Linked DNA regions of Homo sapiens: all the other regions are linked to region 3. The links are contacts of gene promoters, found by promoter capture Hi-C in blood cells and fetal thymus (Javierre and others, 2016). All regions are on one chromosome and are shown on one strand. The core of a region is centred on a gene start or on the middle of the fragment in contact, and the rest is flanking DNA. Distances in the headings are between cores, read along the strand shown. Region 1 overlaps NOD1 (nucleotide binding oligomerization domain containing 1). Region 2 overlaps NOD1 (nucleotide binding oligomerization domain containing 1). Region 3 holds the start of MTURN (maturin, neural progenitor differentiation regulator homolog). Region 4 overlaps GARS1 (glycyl-tRNA synthetase 1).

What was found. Contacts are between HindIII fragments. The CHiCAGO score rates a contact against its expected background, and 5 or more counts as called.
Region 1: a fragment that was not itself captured here is called in contact with the fragment with the promoter of MTURN in region 3 in 2 of 17 cell types (monocytes and neutrophils); the score reaches 5.9 in monocytes.
Region 2: a contact is called between a fragment that was not itself captured here and the fragment with the promoter of MTURN in region 3, in 1 of 17 cell types (naive B cells). The highest score is 8.3, in naive B cells.
Region 4: a contact is called between a fragment that was not itself captured here and the fragment with the promoter of MTURN in region 3, in 1 of 17 cell types (neutrophils). The highest score is 5.2, in neutrophils.

What each region holds. Positions count from the first base shown.
Region 1 is chr7:30,445,639-30,451,150 of GRCh38, reverse strand. It overlaps NOD1 (nucleotide binding oligomerization domain containing 1), which reads left to right. Exons shown (of 14, transcript NM_006092.4): 7 at 2,770-2,853; 8 at 4,101-4,184; 9 at 4,927-5,010. Among named protein-coding and RNA genes, the nearest start is that of NOD1, 30 kb to the left of the region's middle. RefSeq lists an enhancer at 1,125-1,625 and a silencer at 5,153-5,312. The HindIII fragment of the contact is 498 bases long and covers 1,466-1,963 here.
Region 2 is chr7:30,429,785-30,435,036 of GRCh38, reverse strand. NOD1 (nucleotide binding oligomerization domain containing 1) reads left to right here. Exons shown (of 14, transcript NM_006092.4): 12 at 1,858-1,941. Among named protein-coding and RNA genes, the nearest start is that of LINC01176, 42 kb to the right of the region's middle. RefSeq lists an enhancer at 615-754. The HindIII fragment of the contact is 3,695 bases long and covers 1,105-4,799 here.
Region 3 is chr7:30,132,431-30,137,770 of GRCh38, reverse strand. It overlaps MTURN (maturin, neural progenitor differentiation regulator homolog), which reads right to left and starts at 2,785. Exons shown (of 3, transcript NM_152793.3): 1 at 2,473-2,785. The coding sequence starts at 2,634. It overlaps LOC105375216 (a long non-coding RNA gene), which reads left to right and starts at 3,057. Exons shown (of 3, transcript XR_927146.3): 1 at 3,057-3,167; 2 at 4,316-4,454. RefSeq lists silencers at 1,658-1,837, 2,158-2,297, 2,490-2,867, 2,638-2,887. The HindIII fragment of the contact is 5,435 bases long and covers 1-4,145 here.
Region 4 is chr7:30,597,876-30,603,530 of GRCh38, reverse strand. GARS1 (glycyl-tRNA synthetase 1) reads right to left here. Exons shown (of 17, transcript NM_002047.4): 2 at 4,634-4,735; 3 at 3,482-3,584; 4 at 2,331-2,472; 5 at 409-497; 6 at 1-35. Among named protein-coding and RNA genes, the nearest start is that of GARS1, 5.8 kb to the right of the region's middle. The HindIII fragment of the contact is 326 bases long and covers 3,502-3,827 here.

The DNA.
Region 1 (5,512 bases), core at 465-2,964, 310 kb before region 3:
ATGGCATCATGGACCAGGATCCCCCAGGACTCATGACCATGGCCCTTGGAATGTCCAGACCTTTTCTTTCTTAGCAGGGCAGAGGTCAAGGTGCAAAGCTTCGAGGCAGGTGGACCTGGATCAGCCACAGCTGGGTGCCCTTGAACAAAGTGCTTAACTCTCAGAGCCTCCACGCCCTCATCTGGAAAAAGAAGATGCTCATAATCCTATCAATTATGGCCACAGGGACCAATGTTAGTTGAGAATGGGTGAAGTGCATTACAAATATTACCTAATGGAATGCTCTTTACAACCCTGTAACTTAGGTACTGTTATTGTCTCTATTTTGGCAGATAAGGAAGTAGAGGCACAGAGAAGTTAATAGCTTGCTTTAGGTCACACAGCTCAGACATAGCAGTGCCAGAATGCATAAAGAACCTTCCTTTTAAGATTAATGTAAGGCTCCGAGATAGCCCTCAAAAAGTTTCTGGAATATGGGAGCTTTTATTACTGCAGAGAAAGCAGACCTTGTGCCAGTTGGCACTGGTGACTTTCTGTGATCAACGCTAGCAGCCCTTCACACTGCTAGAGACCTCAGTTAAAATGCTGACTCGTGGTTGTTTTCCTGTTCCATAGTTTACGGGAAACAGAGCCCAGTCTGTTTTCTTCTATTAGCATTTCCTATGTAAAATAAACCTTGTAAATCTCTACAGGGGGTTAAATTTGCCATTACTTGACTCATGCATTTCTAAAAAGCAGTAGGGATTTGGAACTGACTCCCAGTGCCTGTCACACCAGTGTCAGAGTGTAAATAATTGCATGGGGACATGGGGTGCAGGGGGTCGAAGGCTGCCCTAGCCTGGGAATTGGAAAACCTGGAGTCTGTTCTCTGTACTCTCAGCCAGTGACTCTCCCTCTGTAGCCCCAGGCAGTCTCACACTCAGTGCCACCCTCTGTCCATCTTTTTTTTTTCTCCCCCAAATGGAGTCCCGCTCTGTTGCCCAGGCTGGAGTGCAGTGGCGTGATCTCAGCTCACTGCAACCTCCGCCTCCTGGGTTCAAGCGATTCTCTTGCCCCAGCCTCCTGAGTAGCTGGGATTACAGGCACACGCCACCATGTCCGGCTAAGTTTTTTGTATTTTTAGTAGGACGGGGTTTCCCCATGTTGGCCAGGCTGGTCTTGAAATCCTGACCTCAGGTGATCCGCCCGCCTCGGCCTTCCAAAATGTTGGGGTTACAGGCATGAGCCGCCGCACCCGACCCCTCTGTCCATCTTTTCAATGGGAAACTCCACACCAGTGTGGTGGCCCTGCCCTTCCTGCTGTCCCCAGGTGAAGCTTTCCTTCACACCAGTGCAAGAAAAAACAGCTTGTAGGAAAGCAGAGGATATGGGTAACCACGGGAAGCACACTCAGTTCTCTGGCTGCATCAGTTAGGATTAGTTTTAGCTGAGAGCGAAAACCCCAAATGTTGGTGAGTTACAAGCTTATTTCTCTCATGTAAAAGTCTAGAGGTAGGTAGTTCAGGACTGGTATGGAGTCTCCATGACCCTCCGGAGCCCAGGCTCTCTTCTGCCTTCCTGTTCTGCCATCCTCACTACCCGGCTTTCCCATCTTGGCCCAAGAGGGCTGCTCAAACTCCAGCCATCTAGTCGACACTCTAGCTATCAGTAAGAAGGAAGGGCAAAGATTGAGAGCATGCCTCAATCTTTTAAGAACACTTCTTGGCTATTACTAATTATATTGCTGCTTAGATTTCAGAACTTAATGGTATGGGCAGAATTTAATGAGATGGGCCCAGCTAAAAGATGGGGGAATCTATTGCTAAGAAAGTATAGATATTGGGAATGTCTAGCAGCCTGTGCTGTCTTGGGCTGGCCATGCCATGTACATACACACTATTTCCCAGCACCAAGCTGGGGACTCTGAGGGAAAGGGTCCAGAGTGTCTGACTTGATCATTTTGATGTGGCCTAAAAATCAAGCTTTTAATTGTTCAGCCTTTTACTTGTTATCAAGGTCAGCTTGTGGGTCTAATTGGGCCCAAGGCTTGTGTTTCTAAGTAAAGTTTTATTGGAACGCAGCCATACCCATTTATTTACTTACTGGCTGCTTCACACTACACAGTTGAGTAGCTGTGACAGAGACCACATGGCCCACAGAGCCTAAAATATTTGCTGTCTGACACTTTACAGAATGACATGAGCAGTCTCCTTTGACAGTGGGACTCACAGCCTTTTCCAGTGACAAATCAGGGTTAGCCCATGTGTTTCTGGATGGGGGGAAGCTGTTGGCATTTTGGGTATAACAGTTCTTGTGAGACCTGTCCAGCATTTTGCAGGACACCTAACATCATTGGCCCTGCCTGCAAGATGACAGGGCACTCCCTCCTCCAGTCACAACCACTAAAAGCAGCCCCTGACATTTCCAAACCCATGCCCTCCACCATACGAGAACCAGGTACAGGGTCTGGCTGACACATAGGTCACACGCAAAGGGTGGATGTCAGAGGTGGCTGGCCTCACACGTCCTCCCTGTGTCCTTCACGGTCGTGTGAGGAGCCAGGGGCTGTGCTGCAGCCTCGCTCATGGGCTGGTGCAGGATGGGTCTGGCGGCCCCACGTTGGCCAGGCTTTGTAAGGGGCTATTTGGCTGATTGCTGTGGCCATTCTCCAGGGGCGTCTATACCTGAGAAAACTCCAGGGCCTGAAGGCTTCTGGATCTTTGTAAGATTAATGGTCCTTCATAATGAGTGCCTGCCCTGACTCGTAATTTTTTTGCTGTTTTATTTCAGACTCAGCGTAAACCAGATCACTGACGGTGGGGTAAAGGTGCTAAGCGAAGAGCTGACCAAATACAAAATTGTGACCTATTTGGGGTATGTCTTTCTCCAGAACACTGGGCCAACTACCTAGTAATAATACAGAGCTGCAGGGAATTCACATTCCCATAGGTCCCTGGATGATCGGCACGGATGGCCCAGGGCTGGGAAGAGCGCTGGCCCAGGAGTTGAGAGTCCTGGGTTCTCTTTGTGGCTCGGCCAGTCATGAAGTCTTGCTGAGCCTCAGCCTCCTCACCTGTAAAACTGGGATCCCAGTATAGGCAAGTAGGCTTACAACTGGTTATTGGGGGATGCAACGAGAATATAAGGGGATATATTTAATAAATGCTAGAATCCTGTTTACATATTAGTCTGGACTATTTTGGGTCCATAATCCCTCATCCAGAGCCTTTGGGGCAAGACCCGAATGGGGATTCTGAGTGCATGCTATGGCATGACGTGGCCGCAGGGGTCTAAGGCAGTGCCCCATTTTCAAACACTTTCATATTTCTCCCGCAGAATGTATGAAACAGTCAAACCAAGTGTGGTAAGAAAGACTATAAGTAGCTCCACATCAGTTGCCAAAAGAATTGTGAGAAACTTTGGGCATTCAGAGCCTTTGAGGTTTTGGAGTCTGAGAGAAGGGATTGCGGGCCAGCCCCACACAACTGGTGGCTCTGCAAGCTGGAGCAGTTGTTCAGTTTCTTGGGGCCTCAGTGGCCTTCGATGTTAATGAGGACATGGACGCAAACGACCCCGGGCCACACTCGGCTCCAGGGCTCTGTGTGGCTGTGGAACCCTGGAAGCCTGAGCTTAGCTGCCTTTCAACTTCCATCTGCTGTACTATTGAATTGGCATTGAGCGGTGAGATGGCTGAAAGGTAGACATCGAGAAGTTTTAATATTCAGAATCTTTTCTTCTCAAGACGCTGAATGTAATCTTAGTTGTAAATACCCATCACCTGCCAGTCACCGAGCACTCATGCACCAGGGCTTTGCGTTATGTCCTAAGATCCTCATAACCACCCTGCAAGGGGACTATCATCATTACCTCTGTATTACAGATGGAGAAACTGAGGCACAGAGAGGTAACGTGACTTGTCTCAGGCCATAAAGCTGGGGAAAGTAGTGGAGCTGGTTTTGAACCTGAGCTGTGAGACCTCAGAGCCCTAAACTCTGGTGCCTGTGTGTTCCCCTTTCAACCCAGACTTTGGAAATCAGTAGACACCATATGCTTCAAAAAACAGGGGCTATTAAAATGACATCAGGAGCCAGAAAGTCTCATGGCTGTGCTTTCTCTTGAAGTTTATACAACAACCAGATCACCGATGTCGGAGCCAGGTACGTCACCAAAATCCTGGATGAATGCAAAGGCCTCACGCATCTTAAGTAAGTGGGGTAGGCACCAGGTTCCTTAGTATATTCTCTTGATCACCCCCTTCTGTTGTTCAAAGATTAAATGTCACAGTAAAGAGCTTTCATCCTAAAGCCTTCCACTTGTCCCAGGGCCATGTTGGTCAAGTAAAGATACCTCTGTGTGATCTGTGAGGCTTGGATTCTGGAAGGGCCTCCCGTTATTGGTAGGGGGAAAGGTTGGCATTTTGATTTCATTAACTACTAGGCCGAAGAAAGGACTAACTCTCACCCTTTCTGGTGGTCTTTTTGCCCCAAGGGAGTTTCCTGTCGGGTTGCAAGGAAGAGCTTGGGCCCTTGCCCTGCTGTAGGTGTGCCCTGCGCAGGGGGTGACAGTGCGCCAGGCTTGGAGCCTCTGGTCCTGCCCTGACAGTGGCCACATACCTTGACCCTTGGCAGTCAAAGTGGGACCTCCCAGGTCTCCCGAGGGAAGTCAGTGATGCTGCTGAGGTCAATTAGAGGACCCCAGGGAGGGCTCAGGTCCCTGAGCTTCTGCAGAGACTGTGGACCATCTCCTGGAGAGGAACCCTGACTGACTGTCCTCAGGGCTTCAGTTCCCTCCCTGACAGGAGGCCCAGGCCATGGCTCTTGTGGATCCCAGAAGAAAGTGTACGGTTCCCAAGATGGGGCTGGAAGGGGCTCTGTGCTGGGGAGGAGGGTGACCCACATTGGAGCCCCTGCATAGCTGGAGGCTGACTGTGTGTGACTCTCTCTGCAGACTGGGAAAAAACAAAATAACAAGTGAAGGAGGGAAGTATCTCGCCCTGGCTGTGAAGAACAGCAAATCAATCTCTGAGGTTGGGTGAGTAGAAGGGGATGGATGTATGTGGTACAACCTGCTGTGTGTGTGGGGGGCGGGCCTTGCTGTTCTTTTCATACATCAGTACACCAGAAGGACCACTGGGGCTCGCTGTCGGGGAGAGATAGTGGAGAGCTTTCACCATGCTGCGAAACTGAAACCGTGCCCATTAAGCAATAACTCCCCGGTCCCCCTCCCCCCTGCCTCTTGCAGCCACCCTGCTACTTACTCTCTCTATGGTTTTGACTACTCTACCTCATGTAAGTGGAATCATACAGTATTTGCCTTTTGGGGATGGCTGATTTCACTAGCATCATGTCCTCAAGATTCGTCCACATGGAAGCATGGGACAGGATTTCCTTTTTTTTTTTTTTTTTTTTTTTTTTTGACAGAGTCTCGCTCTGTTGCCCAGGCTGGAGTGCAGTGGCATGATCTCGGCTCACTGCAACCTCTGCCTTCTGGGTTCAAGCGATTCTCTCGCCTCAGCCACACGAGTAGCTGGGAT
Region 2 (5,252 bases), core at 1,703-4,202, 300 kb before region 3:
TACTTTGGAAGGCTGAGGTGGGAGGATCGCTTGAGGCCAAGAGTTCGAGACTAGCCTGGGCAATATAGCGAGACCCTCTATCTACAAAAAAAAAAAACATTCCTTACAGGTTAAGTGAGGGAGTTGTATTACAACCCTCCCTATCATCTACTCAGAGCCCAGTGCTCATTTGATCTTGCTAAATTAGTTACTGAGAATAATGACAATATCCTCTTCATGAGAGAGTTTTGACATTAGGCCTGCTGTCCAGTAAGTGCATTTTAAATTCTTTCCCCTCAACAAATCATTTAACATTTTGAAAAGTAGTTTATGTTTTTTGGAAAAAATGTAAGACACTAAAGGAGGACATGAAAGTACCTCCTAAAGTTCCTGCTAAAAGGAGGAAGTGAAAGTACCTCCCTTTGTGTTTTCCAAAATAACCTTTCCTTTCTAGCCTTTTGTTCTATGTATGTTCAAAGATATGCAAAACAGAATAGCATTCAAGCAGTGGCTCTAAAAATATTGTAATCACATACTTTACATGTCTCCTTTAGGGTTTCTCCATCTTGATGCTGTTGACATTTTGGTCCAAGTGATTCTTTATTATGGTAGGGCTGTCCTGTGCATCATAGACGGTTTAGCCGCATCTCTGCCCTGTACCTCCCAGTGGTGAGGATCAAAAATGCCTCCGGACATGGCCAGGTGCCCCATGGAGAGTGAAATCACATGGATAGTAGTAATGTCAACACCTAGAAGCCCTCAAGTGCTGACTGCATGCCATGTGTTATTCTACACTTTTTCCCTGTGTTAACTCACTCAGCCTCACAACCACTCTATACGATCTCTACTGTTAACGTTCACCAGTGAGAAAACTCAGACCCAAAGAACTTAAGCCTGTTGCCCGAGGTCACCCTGCTGGTGGGTGATACAAACCTGCCCAGGCTGAGTCCGGAGTAGATGTCAATGCTGTGTTCTTCTCCCTCCTCATTCTACCTCATTCTCCCTACAAGCTGCACAACATCTCGAATAGATATCACAATATATTTCATCAGTTGTTTCTGATCTAAATTTGTTCAGATTTTACATTAGGATAATACCACAATGCATGCTGCAATGTATAAAGCTTTGTGTGTATATCCTTGCACACTGTAGGGTAAATTTCTAGAAGTCTGATTGTCTTAAAATGAAGCACATTAAAAATTTGGGCAGGCACATCCAAACTGCCCTTCAAGGAATTTTTTTTTTTAAATGTTCTTTCTGTTCTATTCTTCTTCCTAATGATTCTTTCGTCCACTGGCACAAGTGGGTCCTACCCTGTTTACACCAAGGAGCTTTGGTGCTTTATCCAGACCACTTCTGGTTCTAAGGACCATTGAGAGACTTCCTGAACTTTCAGTCACTTAACTTGGGTCCCTCACAAGTTAACTGAGAGCAAAGTACTGAACACATTTTAATGTGCAGTCAGTGACTGTTTCAGGTCTTCAAACTAACTTGGATAACACACTGTCAGTGGTGTTCAAGGGACCCTGGGACTAGAGGAGAACTGAGAAGCAGGCATTGGCCCTTTGTTTTCCGTGGGCCCCCATCTTCCATGAAATCTGAGGGCTCAGCAAAGGTGGGGAGGGAGGGTGGGCTCCTCTACAGGTAGCTGGGCTAAGAAATAGGAGCCCAGGTACAGGATTTGCATTAAAAATGAGTCCCATTGACCTTCTGTGGGGCTGACAGGCTGGGCTTGGAGCCTGGCTGTTTTCTGGGTTCTCAGCAAGTGATCATCTGCATAGCTGGAGAGCCTTGGGCTGAGCTCCCGCTCCTGTGAACTCTAAAACAATGTCTGCCAAGTAGGCTCTCTTGAGTAAATACTTCCTTTTTTTTCCTTAGGCTGACCCAAAATGAACTCAACGATGAAGTGGCAGAGAGTTTGGCAGAAATGTTGAAAGTCAACCAGACGTTAAAGCATTTATGGTAACTCAGAGAGCCTTACAATTTCAGACTGTGCTACTTTTCAAAAGTATTTTTTGAGATAAAATTTACATACTGTAAAATTCACTCTCTTAAAGTATACAATTCAGAGGTTTTTAGTGCAACCATCACCACCTAATTCTAGAACATTTTCACTCCTCCTCCCCACTCCAAAAAGCCCTGGTATCCATTAAGCAGTCACTCCCTGTCCTCCTCCCCAGACCCTGGCAACCACTAATCCGCTTTCTGTCTCTATGGATTTGCCTACTCTGGGCATTTCATATAAATGGAATCAAGCAATATGTGACCTTTTGTCTCTGTGTTCTAGCATGTTTCATTCCTTTTTATGGCTAAATGATAATTCACTCTAAGGAAATTTTGCAGTTTATTAATCAGTTGATGGGACATTTGGGTTGTTTCTACTTTTTGACTATTATGCGTAATGCTACTGTGAACACTCCTGTTCATGCTTTTGGGTGAACATATGTTTTCATCTCTTTTGGGAATATACCTGGGAATAGAATTTCTGGGTCATATGGCAATTCTGTAACTTTTTGAGGAGCCACCAAACTGTTTTCTAAAGTGGATGTACTATTTTACATTCTCGCCAGCAATGTATGTGGATTCCAATTTCTCCACATCCTCACCAACACTTATTATTGTCCATCTTTTAAAATCTAGTTATACTAGTGGATGTGAAGTAATATTGTGGTTTTGATTTGCATTTCCCTGATGACAACAATGTTGAATGTCTTTTTATGTGCCTACTGGGAGTCTGTATAGCTTCTTTGGAGAAATGTCTCCATATCCTTTGCCCATTTTAAAATTGGGTTTGTCTTCTAATGCTGAGTTATAGGGGTTCTCTATATATTCTGGGTGCTAGACCTTTACTAGATACAGGTTTTGCAAGTATTTTCTTTCTTTCTGTGGAGTTTTTCCTCTTTCTTGATAGTGACCTTTAAAGGACAACAGTTTTTAATTTTTGTTTTTTTTGAGATGGAGTCTTGCTCTTGTCACCCAGACAGGAGTGCAGTGGCATGATCTCAGCTCTCTGCAACCTCCACCTCCTGGGTTCAAGCGATTCTTCTGCCTCAGCCTCCTGAGTAGTTGGGATTACAGGCATCAGCCACCATGCCTGTCTCATTTTGTATTTTTAATAGAGATGGGGTTTCACCATTTAGGCCCAGGCTGGTCTTGAACTCCTGACCTCAGGTGATCCACCTGCCTCAGCCTCCCAAAGTGCTGGGATTACAGGCGAAAAGCCACTGCACCTGGCCAATAGTTTTTAATTTTGATGAAGTCCAATTTATCTATTTTTTTCTTTGGTTGCTTGTGCTTTCAGTGTCTTATCTAAGAAATGATTGCCTAATCCAAGATCACAAAGAACTCCACCTAAGTTTTCTGTTAAGCGTTATAGTTGTTTCCCCTCACATATAGGTCTGCAATCCATTTTGAGTTAATTTTTGTATAGTGTAAAGTGAGGGTTAACCTCATTCTCTTGCACGTGGATATCCAGCTGTCCCGGCAGCACCACGTGTTGAACAGATTATCTTTTCCTATTGAATGGCCTTGACACCCTTGTCAAAAATCAATTGACCATAAATGTATGGGTTTATTTCTGAATTCTCTGTTCTGGTCCATTGATTTATATGTCTCTCCTATGCCAGGACCATTGCTGTAGCTTTGTGTAGTACATTTTGAAATCAGGAGGTGTGAGTTCTACTTTGTTCTTCTTTCTCAAGATTGTTTAGACCATTCTGGGTTCTTTGCATTTCTTATGAATTCAGACTCACCTTGTCAATTTCTGCAAAAAGACTAGACTCTGCTACATATTGTTTTTTCTTTCCTTTTTAGCCTGCAGAATTATTTGATCCCATTCCCTAAGTGCAGGCCAGCCTCTCCAGGGAGAGCAGAGCTAGGACAGGGTCAGAAAGAGAGTCTTGGCTGCTTTGTGCATTCCCAACCTGCACTGGCCCTAGTGAAGGCAGCCCGAGTGGGTGGATGTGCCTGGACACTGCAGGCTTTTTAGGGGCATTAGGTGCTCTCCTTCCTGGCCTCCTGCCACATCTTGGTTGGAGGCTGCCTTCCCTGCCTTCAAAAAAGCCTAAGTGGTGACTAGAAAACAGCAGAGTGTAACTGAATACAGAACTTGGTGCCCACTTCCTGGTTCTATTTTTGTCCCTTTTGAAAGGGAAGGTCATTACCTCTGCCATTGAACCCAGGGGCCCTAGCCCTTGTGGGGTATGGCTGGGAGCACCAGATCCTGGCTGCAGCCCAGCCACCAGTGGTCCTGTGTGCTTGGGCAGTAACAGTGACAAGAGCTCCCTTCCCCCTGGACACTGTGCCTAATACCCTCCTCTTGAAATCTCACACACCCAGTGGATGGGGGGCACTCTTATAGTTATTCTCAGTTTACAGATGACACAACTGAGGCACAGACAGATGCGTTTATTTCTTCAAGGTTCTGTAGCTGAACAGTGGGGAGGGAGGGTTTAAGAGGAGCTGCACCCGCTCTGCAATACTGCCTCTCACGAGGGAGTCCTCTTCATTCATGACAGCATAGGGCCCTCGTCTTCCTGGTAAGGGCTTCCTTCTTGGGTCAGTGCCAGGATTTCTAAGGGTCATGTTTAGCAGGAGCCTATTCTACAAACAGCCAGGAGCAGGGAATGACTCTGTGATGAAGCGGAGACACTACAGCCTCTTGATGCATTTATTTCCTGGTTGGGTTAGAAGCGTAGCTGCCCAAGGGAGCATTTCAGGAGAGGCCTGGCTTCCTAGCGATAGCTGAAAACTTTGTTTCATTTGAATCACTGCTACCCAGAACAATGGGGTGCATTCTCAGAGTCCCCATTATTAAAGCTTTTCCACTGAGCCCCATGAGAACTATTCATGAGAACTATTTCATGGCAGCATAACTGTTTCTCCTCCCTCCCTCTTGCATGTTGGTAGCCTCTTAACTTTAAAACCTGCCTTGCCTTTCCCTAGCTACCTGGAAGGAGACGTCAGACTTCCTGTCCCATGGTGTGTTTCTTACAATTTGTTGTTCAGATTGGTGGTCTCCCAAATATATATAAAAATATAAATGGAGTCTCACTCTGTCACCCAGGCTGGAGTGCAGTGGCACGATCTTGGCTCACTGCAACCTCCACCTCCCAGTTCAAGCAATTCTCCTACCTCAGTCTCCCGAGTAGCTGGGAGTACAGGTGCACACCACCATGCCCAGCTAATTTTTTTGTATTTTTAATAGAGACAGGTTGGCCAGGATGGTATCGATCTCCTGAGCTCGTGATCCACCCACCTCGGCCTCCCAAAGT
Region 3 (5,340 bases), core at 1,536-4,035:
CTTAATACATTTTCCAGGGAAAAAGAAAAGAACTAAGGCAGGACACTTATTAGAGGCAAACAGTAGCTTGACAAACCTGGCCTGGGACAGATTCAAGAGGTCCGGCTAGGAAAACTCCCGAGGTTGGCATCTTGTCCATTAGAGCCTCCAGAACTTGGAGAAAGTTCCATTCTACCCAAGGAATCATCTGCCCACCCCCATCCTCTATCTTTCTATCTATTCTATTTAAATTGTCAGTTTACATGACACTTTCAAGCATTTTTCTCATGCAGATGGGAAAATATTTAAAATCTGGGTGGCCTCAAGAGAAAGGCCTGATACAAATAATATAATACTTCTTACTTCTGAACGATGGTTGGATACACATATTCATGGCAAGAGAACAGCCTTTTGTCTTCCTGGCCCACTTACTGTCTTTGGAGTCATTTCTTTGGGTATGGCCTGGGCGGTCCCAGCAGGAAGGCTGTGTGGGCTTCTCCCCAGTGAAATCCAGAACCATGAGCCATTCTTGCCCTGTTTCACACGGTCAGGAGGGAGAAAGGGCGCTGGCAGATGAAGGAAGCCCAGAGCTGGAAGGGACCCTAGCCAAACCCTAACATTTTACAGTCAGCTGGATTCTGGTGCCCTTTCCACTGTATCCTGGGGGCTTTCTCACACTTTTGCAATGGAGTGAATCCCTTTTTAATGATCTCCCACTCCTTCCAAAAAGAACACTTATTTACTTACTTTACCTACAGTTAAGATGGGCTTACAGGCATTAATATTATTGTTCAGTTGGCTCTTCTGGAGGTATTCTGATTAGCCCCATTTTACAGGTGGGAAAACCAAGGCTCTTTAAAAAATGAGACAAGCTCTAAATTCTGGGAAACCCCAGGTCTCTAACCCCAAATTTGTGGGGCTCTTGCTGTGTGTTAGGGACTATTCGGTGCGTTACCTATATGAACGCCTGGGTGCTGGCATTATTATACCTATTTTTTTGGATGTGGAAACTGAGCTCAGGGTGGGTATTTGAGCACAGTCACAGAGCCAGAACTCAAATCTGGCTGTCACACAAGGCCATCCCTCTTCTGGAGTGCCACTTGTGGAATGCCCAGGTGGATCCCTGCCCTCCTCAGGGGGTGCGTGTGGGCGGAGGGAATGCTTTATCGGCCAGGCATACATAAGCCTTCACCTCTCCAGGACCAAGAAAGGCGGTCTTGCAGTCTCCCTAACTCCTTCGCGAACTTCCCGTAGGTGGTCAGGGCGCTCGGCGGCAGGACCACGGCCCAGCTTTGTCTCCCCCACCTGAGGAGCGTGCACCAGGCCGCGCCCCGCACCACCCCACCTCCGCCCACAAGGCCCGCGACCACACGGTCACCCGCGCCCACGGCCGCCTCCATCTTACATTTGGGGATCATTATTTATTCCCCGACCTTGGAAACACTTCATGAGCACCGTGCTCGCCCTACTCCACCCCTCCCACCCCGACTCCCCTGCCCTCCGCATCCCCTTCCTCAACTGCCAGAGTCGGGATCCCAGGTGGGTGCAGGATTCAAAGTGGAAGGTTTGGACACCGCAGTCCCAGTTCCCGGTCCCTCTGAGCCGGGGCTGAGGGGATTCCCCGTCATCTGGAAAAGCCAACGGGCTTCAGCAGGGCCAGGGCACCGCCTCGGCTGGAGAGAACCCGCCCGGGCCACACACACCTCTCGGGCAGCTCAGAGAGGCAGCGAGGGCAGCGCGGGGGCAGGGGGAGAGGCGTGCCGCGTGTGCGCGTGAGTGTGCGCGTGTGAGGGTGAGGGTGTGAGCATGTGTGTGTGTGTGTTGGGGTGTATGCGCAGGCGCGCGTGCGTATTAAGATCCGGGGTGTAATTCCGCAAAGAAGGTCCAGGAGATCGGGCATCGCTAGTATGGACAGAGCTTTGTGTCCAAACAGGCAGTGCAAGGACTAACCCGCGAGGGCGGGGAGTGGGGTTCTCCCGGGAGGGGCAATGCGAGGAGCCGAGGCTGGGCACCGGAGGGGAGCGGGATTCCTATCCCGGACGGGACGCCTGGATGTGGGAAGCTCCGGACCTGGGCTCCTGCCGGAGGGTCCGTGCGCCCCAGACCCGGCTGGTCCGACGCGGGTGACACCCACACCCCAGGGATGCTCCATGCCAGGCACCGCGCACGGGCCGCGAGGTCGGGTTCCCGAAACGGCGCCCGCAGCAGCGGGGAGAGGAGTGGCCTTTAGGGGGACGCCACACCTCCCGCCCCGACCCGGCTCCCCGGATCCTCCGGGCGCCTTGCCCGCCGCCCACCGGGCCCCACCCGGGCAGCGGAGCCCGCACCGCCCGGCCCGGGGCTTCCCCGGCGGAGCACGCGGGGCGCGGGGCGCGGGTTACGGCCCCCCACTCTGCGCCCACCGCCGCCCACCGCGCGGGAGCTCGGGCGCAGGGACGCACCGCCGCGTCCACACTCCCGCCGGCTCCGGCGGTCCCTCCTCCAGGCACTCACAAAATTGTCGCCGCAGCCGTTGTCCGGACACAGCACATAGAAGGAGACGCCGGGGTCGGCGTAGAAATCCATCCTGCGTTCGGTCTCCTCGGTGGCGATGAGCTCGAAGGGCGTGTTGGAGCACCATTTCTCCGCAACGTCGGCCAGCTGCTGGAAATCCATCGCGGCCCCGCGCCCGCCTCCCGCCGCCGCCCGCCCTCCCGCTCCTAGGCGCCCTCCTCCCGGGCGGGCAGCGCGGCGCTCGGCTCGGCCTGCGCGGGCTCCTCCGGGGCCGGGCTGGGCCGGCTGGGACTGTTTACATGCGGTGCGGAGTGGGGCGGGCGGCGGCCGGGGACAGCGCGGCGCCGCGCCCGCGGCTCCTCCTCCGCCCCGCCTCCCCCCGCCCCCTTGCGGGCCGCCGTGGGGGTTGGCGCGGCCGGGCCGGGACGCGGGGCGGCGGGAGGAGCGGCCGGCACCCCCGCGGGCGCCCGGATTTTCCTGGGCGCTCCCGCCCCCCCTTTATTTTTAAACAAACCCGGAGCATCCCGGGGCCCTGGCCATCGCGGTGCCGCCCCGGGCCGTGACGTCATGGGCCCCAGCCAATCACCGGAGCCTGAGACCGCGCCGCGGCTTGCGAGCCCGGTGACGTCACAGCGCGAGCCTGGAATCCGCAGCTCCGCGGGTTACCTGGAAGCGGTGCGAGCGCCCAATACCTGGTTAGCGTTTCTGTGGAGTTAGAAAGCCCAGGAAGCGTTTGCCCAAATGCGATTTAAATGCAAGGGAGGCCATAGAACTGCAGATAACTTGGACCTTGTCTGGGGCTAGCAGTGGAGGAGCTGAGAAAATCTAAGGAAAAGGGAGCTTTTCTTTTTGCAGAAACCAAAGTTCTGTTCTCCGATTGATTTAAGGGAATGTGTCTTCTTAATGCATTTATCAGACACTAATATGAATGTTCACTTGCAAAGGGCGTGTGTGATTTTTTATTTGCGTTACGTAAAGCTGAATATTTCTTAGAAATGAGCCTCATAAGACTGGCTTCAGTATTATTCAGCTTGAATTCACATTGCATAACCTAAAAAGGTCAAGAGGATAAAGCACATTTTAAAACAAGAGTGTGTGGCCCAACGATTGCACCTGTTGAGTGCTCACTGGCTGCCATATACTGGACAGGCATTACTGGATTGCAGAAAATGCACTAGGGTCCTCGCCCTCAGGACTTGAACACTACAAACACAGACACGTTATAAACATTCAGCCAGCTTTTTTCTGTAAAGTGTGTCTTCTGAACCAGGCACTGTGCACGAATTTACATTCCCACCAACACGTATATATGTTTCCTTTTCTCTGCACCCTCACCAACATCTGCTGTTTTTTGACTTTTTAATCATAGCCATTTTGACTGGTGTGAGATTGTATCTCATTGTGGTTTTAATGTGCATTTCTCTGATAATTAGTGGATGTTGAGCATTTTTTCATATGTTCGTTGGCCACTTGTATGTCTTTTTTGAGAAATATCTGTTCATGTCCTTTGCCCACTTTTTAATGGGTTTTTTTTTTTTCTTGTTGAGTTGTTTGAGTTCCTTGTAGATTCTGGATATTAGTCCTTTGTCAGATGCGTAGTTTGCAAATATTTTCTCTCATTCTGTAGGTTGTCTATTTACTCTGTTGATTGTTTCTTTTACTGTGCAGAAGCTTTTTAGTTTAATTAAGGCCCATTTGTCTATTCTTGTTTTTGTTGCACTTCCTTTGGGGTTTTAGTCATAAATTATTTGCCTAGGCCAATGTTGCAAGGAACTGAATTCTGCCAACAACCCGAATGAGCTTGAAAAGCAGATTTTTTTCTCAAACTTGTTGTCTTTTCCAGACAAGAACTGAGCCTGACTATTACCATGATTGCAGCCTTCGCAGAACCTGAGCGAGAACCCAGTGATGCCATGGCTGTGCTGGGACTTCCGACTTTCAGAACTGTGGGCTATTAAATGGGTGTTGTTTTAAGCTGTTAGGTCTGTTTAAATTCTTCATGCAGCAGTAGAAAACTAATACACAGGACAATGAAGGAGACAGGCACATGAATATAAAAATGCAATATGCTGTTGTAAAGTTACAAAATGGTCCTTAAAAAAAAAAAGTATGGGTGTCTCCAGATAGCACAAGCTTCCTTGCAGTTTTACCTGGCACCACCATTTAAAGCATAATATGTGTTCCAAAAATGAATTCCTTAAATTGGAGATGAAAATATGAAAAATACATTCCTTTTTTCCTTTTTCGGGAAAGAAGGAGTTTTTTTTTTAATCCATGTGTTTTAAAATGTATCAGTCAAATTTGCTCCAAGTGATGTGATCAGAATTATGAAGTTATGTTTATTTAACAAATAGTTTTTGTCAGAAAATGAAAAACTCTTATGAAAAATAAAATTTTGGGTACAAAGCAATTGGTCAATGAAATGGATACCGTTGGGTTTCCTTAGAAATGCACTGAGAGCAACAGCAAAAGCTTCAGAACTCCATGTCTGCATTGATTCCTCCCTCTGCCATTTTAAGTTTTATGTGCATCTGCAACTTCCTTCATTGCTCGGAGCTCAGTTTTCTTTTCTGAAAACAGGGACAACAGTGAGATAAAGTATATAAAGTCCTTATCCCAGAACCTAGCACATAGTAAGAACTCAGTAAATGCCATTATTACTCTTAATCTACTTCTTAGGGATGATGTGTAAGAAGATCAGCTAATGAATTTTTAAAGTGAAATTCAGGAGTGATATGACTGGTAATATTGGTCACAGATGAACCTAAATCTCATTTTTTTTTCCAAGTCTTTAGAGCAGGGTTTCTCAGCAGCAGCACTATTGATATTTGAAGCCAAAAATTCTTTGTTGTTGGAGGCTGTCCTGCA
Region 4 (5,655 bases), core at 2,415-4,914, 460 kb before region 3:
ACACTTCTTATCAGACATCAATTTCTGTAAATGAGCTGTAAGAACAGTGTTGACATATATCAATCAATGGGAAAAAGGACAATGCACTTTTCAGTTTCAATGCTAGACAATTAAAAAGTAAATCCAAGCATAAAGTTCTTAATTTACATGAATCCCACAGTTGATTTTACAACAGCAGTCATGGTATTGTCTTGATTCATTTGCTAATTAGAAAAATTATCTGTATATAACTAATTATCTACATATAACTTTTTTAAAAAATAAAGGACTTGATCTATATACTTAAGATCTGTGCACTTTGCTCTTTGAATGTTATGCCTCAATAAAAAATTTAATGAAAGACATCTGAGAGAAAGTTTAAACCTTTTATTTTGATCAATCCTACCTGAAGGAGATGAAGAACCTCACCTTTTAATAGATGGTCAGCACGAAAACATTCTCCATTTTTTACGTCTTTCACCATGAAGTCAGCAAATTTGTCTACATGGCCAGAGGTCCTAAATTAACAAATGCCAACCCAATTTGTCATTCTCATACAAATTACACATAGATATTACCTTATAAGATAATTCCCCATCAATATTTATATCCATCTCAAAGATGGAAGCTCCCATATCTATAGTAATGATGTATCCATGACAGTAATGGATGCCAGAGAAAATTCTTCCTCAAATCTATTTCTCACCCTCTCCCACATTCTTCCTTCCCATAAGAAAGAAGACATTAACTAGACAATAAAAAGACAATTCTTTTCTACAAGTTGTCATAAAGTCTGTACTATTCTTCAGGATCAATTAATCCATGCCTATGCCATTATTATTAGTGATCTAAGCAAAGGCCAAAATCACTGGGAATTTGACTAGTTAAGAATTCATGGCAGCTCAGTATAGACATTGAACCTTAAGGGAAGTGTTTTCTGCCACTGAAACCTGTACTGACATTGGTATTATCTCTACAAAGTTCCTATTGGTGGAACAAGTAGCTAAAATGATAGGTAGTCCTGATCTTATAGAGCCATCATTCAGAATTCCTCCTCTTCATTGGCTGAAATTATTAAGAGAACCTAACGGATGCCAATAGTAAAAATTAGCTCTCCACCAGTCAACCTTAAATGAATAATGACGAGTTACAAAATGGCAAGAATTCCTCTTTCAGGCCGGGCGCAGTGGCTCACGCCTGTAATCCCAGCACTTTGGGAGGCCGAGGCAGGCGGATCACGAGGTCAGGAGATCGAGACCATGGTGAAACCCCGTCTCTACTAAAAATACAAAAAAATTAGCCAGGCACGGTGGCAGGTGCCTGTAGTCCCAGCTGCTCTGGAGGCTGAGGCAAGAGAATGGCGTGAACCCGAGAGGCGGAGCTTGCAGTGAGCAGAGATCGCCCCACTGCACTCCAGCCTGGGGGACAGAGCGAGACTCCATCTCAAAAAATAAATAAATAAATAAAAGAATTCCTTTCAGTTTCACATTCTGAAATTCTGCCCTACTTTGGGAGGCCGAGGCGGGCGGATCACGAGGTCAGGAGATCGAGACCACCCTGGCTAACATGGTGAAACCCCGTCTGTACTAAAAATACAAAAAAAAAATTAGCCAGACGTGGTGGTGGGTGCCTGTAGTCCCAGCTACTTGGGAGGCTGAGGCAGGAGAATGGCGTGAACCTGGGAGGCAGAGCTTGCAGTGAGCCGAGATCAAGCCACTGCATTCCAGCTTGGGCGACAGAGCAAGACTCCATCTCACACACACAAAAAAAGGAAATTCTGCCCTACTTTCAATAACGTTGGTAGGAATAATCTAAGTTTCTGCATTGAAACTTTAAAACAAATAGTATTTAACTGAAAATCTCTACAAGTATACCTTTGCTCAGAACTTGTATTAAGGAAATAATCAAGGATATACCCAAAAATCCATCTATCAAGATATTCGGTGCAGTCAAAAATGAGAAACACTTTAATGCTTTCAATATGGCACAAACTAACATATTATGGCACTTCCATAAAACAGAATACTATGCTATCATTAAAAATGCTTTAGATGAATAGTTAATGATATGAGTATATGTTCATCAATATTACATGAAAATAAGCAGTGTACTGCTAACACTGAAATACATAGGGACGTACAGAAAAAACAGGAAGGACAAACACAATCATCTTAACATAGCTATCTGTGAGCAGAAGGTATACATTTCTTTGCTTTTCCATATTTTTCAGATTTTCTACATGAAATGAGTAGTTCTTTATAATCAGGAAGTTATTTAGATAAGTATATTAAATAATTTAATAAGTTATTTTATTTAAAGTAGGATACCCCCACTCCAAAGTAAGATCTCACTTTAAAACTGGCTCAGGGGTGAGCATGGTGCAATCGATCTCCAGGATCTGTTCCTCTTGGATAAAGTGCTGCCTCCAGGTCTGAATAATATTGTTCTTCAAAGCACAGCCAACTGGCCCAAAGTCATACAGACCACTAACACCTATAGAATATGAGAGGAAAACACATACTTTACCTTGTTACTCTGAACAAATGAAGGCAAGGAGACATGAGAAACTGATACCTATACTCCCTAAAAGTGTATTCAAGTCAACAATGCAAATCCCTCAATACTGAAGAACCTTACTTTCAGCTAGCTGATGGAAGTAAAATAAAAAAGCTCTTACGCCATTTACTAATTCTATATTTGTAATTTCAAGTAGGACTAGCCCAAAATCTACAACAAAAGTTCCCCCTTAGAGAACAGAATGAAAAAGCAGATTACAGTTTTCTGCCGTAAAAATTACAAAATAATTTCTCACCACATCTGATAACAATGATCTATAATTTTAGCATCCAATTCTCTAATTTTTTCCTGGGTATTTGAGGCACTATTTAACCTCAAAAGGGTAAACATTTACAGATCCACTTAGCCAAACTCAAGTCAACTTTCAGTGGCAAAGTACTATATGTCTAATGTTGTTGTAATAATCCGTTGACTATGAAAAATATAGTTTTACATTTCATCAGTGAATTGTATTTGCCTATATACCTTCATATGGCATTCACAGTGATTTATCTACATCCCTGGGAAGAATGTTTTCTCCTGGCAGATGACCATAAAGAATAATCTAAGGACTGTTTTATCACTGCCCCTGTGTGAAGGGGCATAGTATAGTTAGCCAGTACTACAATGGCCCTCTGTTACTCTTCAGTCTCCATTGCATTTTAAAAAGAGTACATGAGTACACAGACACATCAAATACATACATGGGCCTCCAACAATTCCCTACATCCTAATCAAAAAAAGTGCTGTCCAGGAATAAATGCAGTGGAGAAAAATAACAGGTATCACACCAAATGGTGACTCCAAGCAAACAAAAGCAAAACATCCATCCTCTGCTTTGTGGCCTGATACAAGTGGATACCAACAGGCAAGCCATGTTCTTGATTTAAGTATAATATTAGAGCCACTAACAACACAATAGTTCTTTTTGTCATTAATCCCTTACCTCCATAAATAGCAAAAGCTTGATCATAGAAAAACCTCCTCTTCAGGGTATCTTCCATTTTTGCTCGGTCTACAATATCATCTTTGGGCTGTAACGCCAGCTCCTGTTAGAGATTAAATAAAAAGTGAGTGAGTGGAGGGGTGGGTGGGAATCTGAACTTATATATCTGAATTTAGTTTATTCCTCACCAGAATTAAATATAAAATTTATCAAACAGACAAGATTTTGATAGGTTAAAAACAATAGAAGCCATAGGTCTTTTTTTCCCTTTGAGTAATATAAAAGATATCTTTACTTAATCATTTAGGAAAATATATGATCATTTCCAAGATTACAAGACTAAGCTTGACCAGGTGCGGTGGCTCACACCTGTAATCCCAGTACTTTGGGAGGCCGAAGTGGGTGGATCACCTGAGGTCAGGAGTTCAAGCCCAGCCTGGCCAACATGGCAAAACACTGTCTCTACTAAAAATACAAAAATTAGCTGGGCTTGGTGGTGGGCACCTGTAATCCCAGCTACTTGGGAGGCTGAGGCAGGAGAATCACTTGAACCCGGGAGGCAGAGGTTGCAGTGAGCTGAGATCGCACCATTGCACTCCAGCCTGGGCAACAGGGCGAGACTCCATCTCAAAAAAAAAACAAGACTAAGTTTACTTTGATGTAGATACTGATAAGCAATATAAAGCAATATTTGAATTGTCAGTGGATTGCTATAGCAAAATGGTTACTTTAAAACCCCAAAACAACTTAAGTTTGGTGATGGGAGATCTATTGTTTGAAAGGTCTGGGAGCAGGTATCAAATAAACAGACCTTTTCCTTAAAACAAACAAACAAACAAAAATCATTATTTTCAGGCATAAGAGAAGTCGTAAAGAAGAGCACAATCCTTTCCATGGAAATTCATATAGCGTATTGAGTCCAGCATTTGCAGGGTCAGGAAGGCTTTATTAAAAAGTTGACATTTTGAGTTGCATTTTGAAAGGATGAGGAGTCTACCAGGTAGAGGGAAAGGAGAAGGCGGCATTATGGATAAACAGATAAACCAAATGATACTTGTTCAGAAACTTTTCTAGGTCTCTCCCATCCAAAGAAATTAAAGATGAACAATCCTATACCTACTTATGTTCCTATTTTAGCATCCCAGGACTCACCTTTGCTTCCAGAACCCTCTTGCGGGCTTTGAGCTCAGCCACTGCTTTGTCTACGTCTACTTGGGGTGCTTTATCTTCTTTGAGTTTTCGCACAAGATCTCCCTAGCCAAGAAAGAGAATTTATATTCAGGATTGGTTTCAGAAGTTAAGAAATGTTAGGAATGTGTTTTTAAGCGTGCCTTTTAAAAAGTCTATGTAAGAATGATGCAATTCAGGCCAAGCGTGGTGGCTCACGCCTGTAATACCAGCACTTTGAAAGGCCCTCCTCACCATCTGAGATCAGGAGTTTCAGACCATCCTGGCCAACATGGTGATACACCATCGCTACTGAAAATACAAAAATTAGCCGGCCGTGGTGGTGGGCACCTGTAATCCCAGCCACTTGGGAGGCTGAGGCAGGAGAATCACTTGAACCCGGAAGGCGGAGGTTGCACTGAGCTAAGATCATGCTACTACACTCCAGCCTGGGTGACAAAGTGAGACTCCGTCTCAAAATGAAAAAAAAAAAAAAAAAAAAAAAGAATGATGCAATTCAAATGTTTATTATGTGAGTGATCATTATGAATCAAGGTCTCTGCCCTCTTCATTTAATAATCTAGAAGAACACACGGGCAAGTTAACAAATAACTGCTCACATGGTGAATTTTTTCCTTTGGGTATAGAGGGGTGAAAAAGGAGGAGACAAAAGCATTGATTAAAAAGTAGGAAAGAGCAAGATTTGTACTGAGAACACAGAAGAACCAATAAATTGACCACCTTCTTAAATCTCTCTCCTCTCGCTTACAAAAAAAAATAAAAACATTATTCAGTTTTCCTCCCACTTCTCTGACCATTCTTCTCAGTCACTGCTGGCTCATCTTCCTTTGCCTTTCTCTTTACAGTTGGAATTTTTTCCTTGCTAATATTTCTGAATTATTTTATTAACTTCCAACAACTTATACTAATTCCATATTTATAGTAATATGGTGGAATAGGTCATCTGAGTAAACAAACAAAATATTACCTATATAGGATGAAAAACT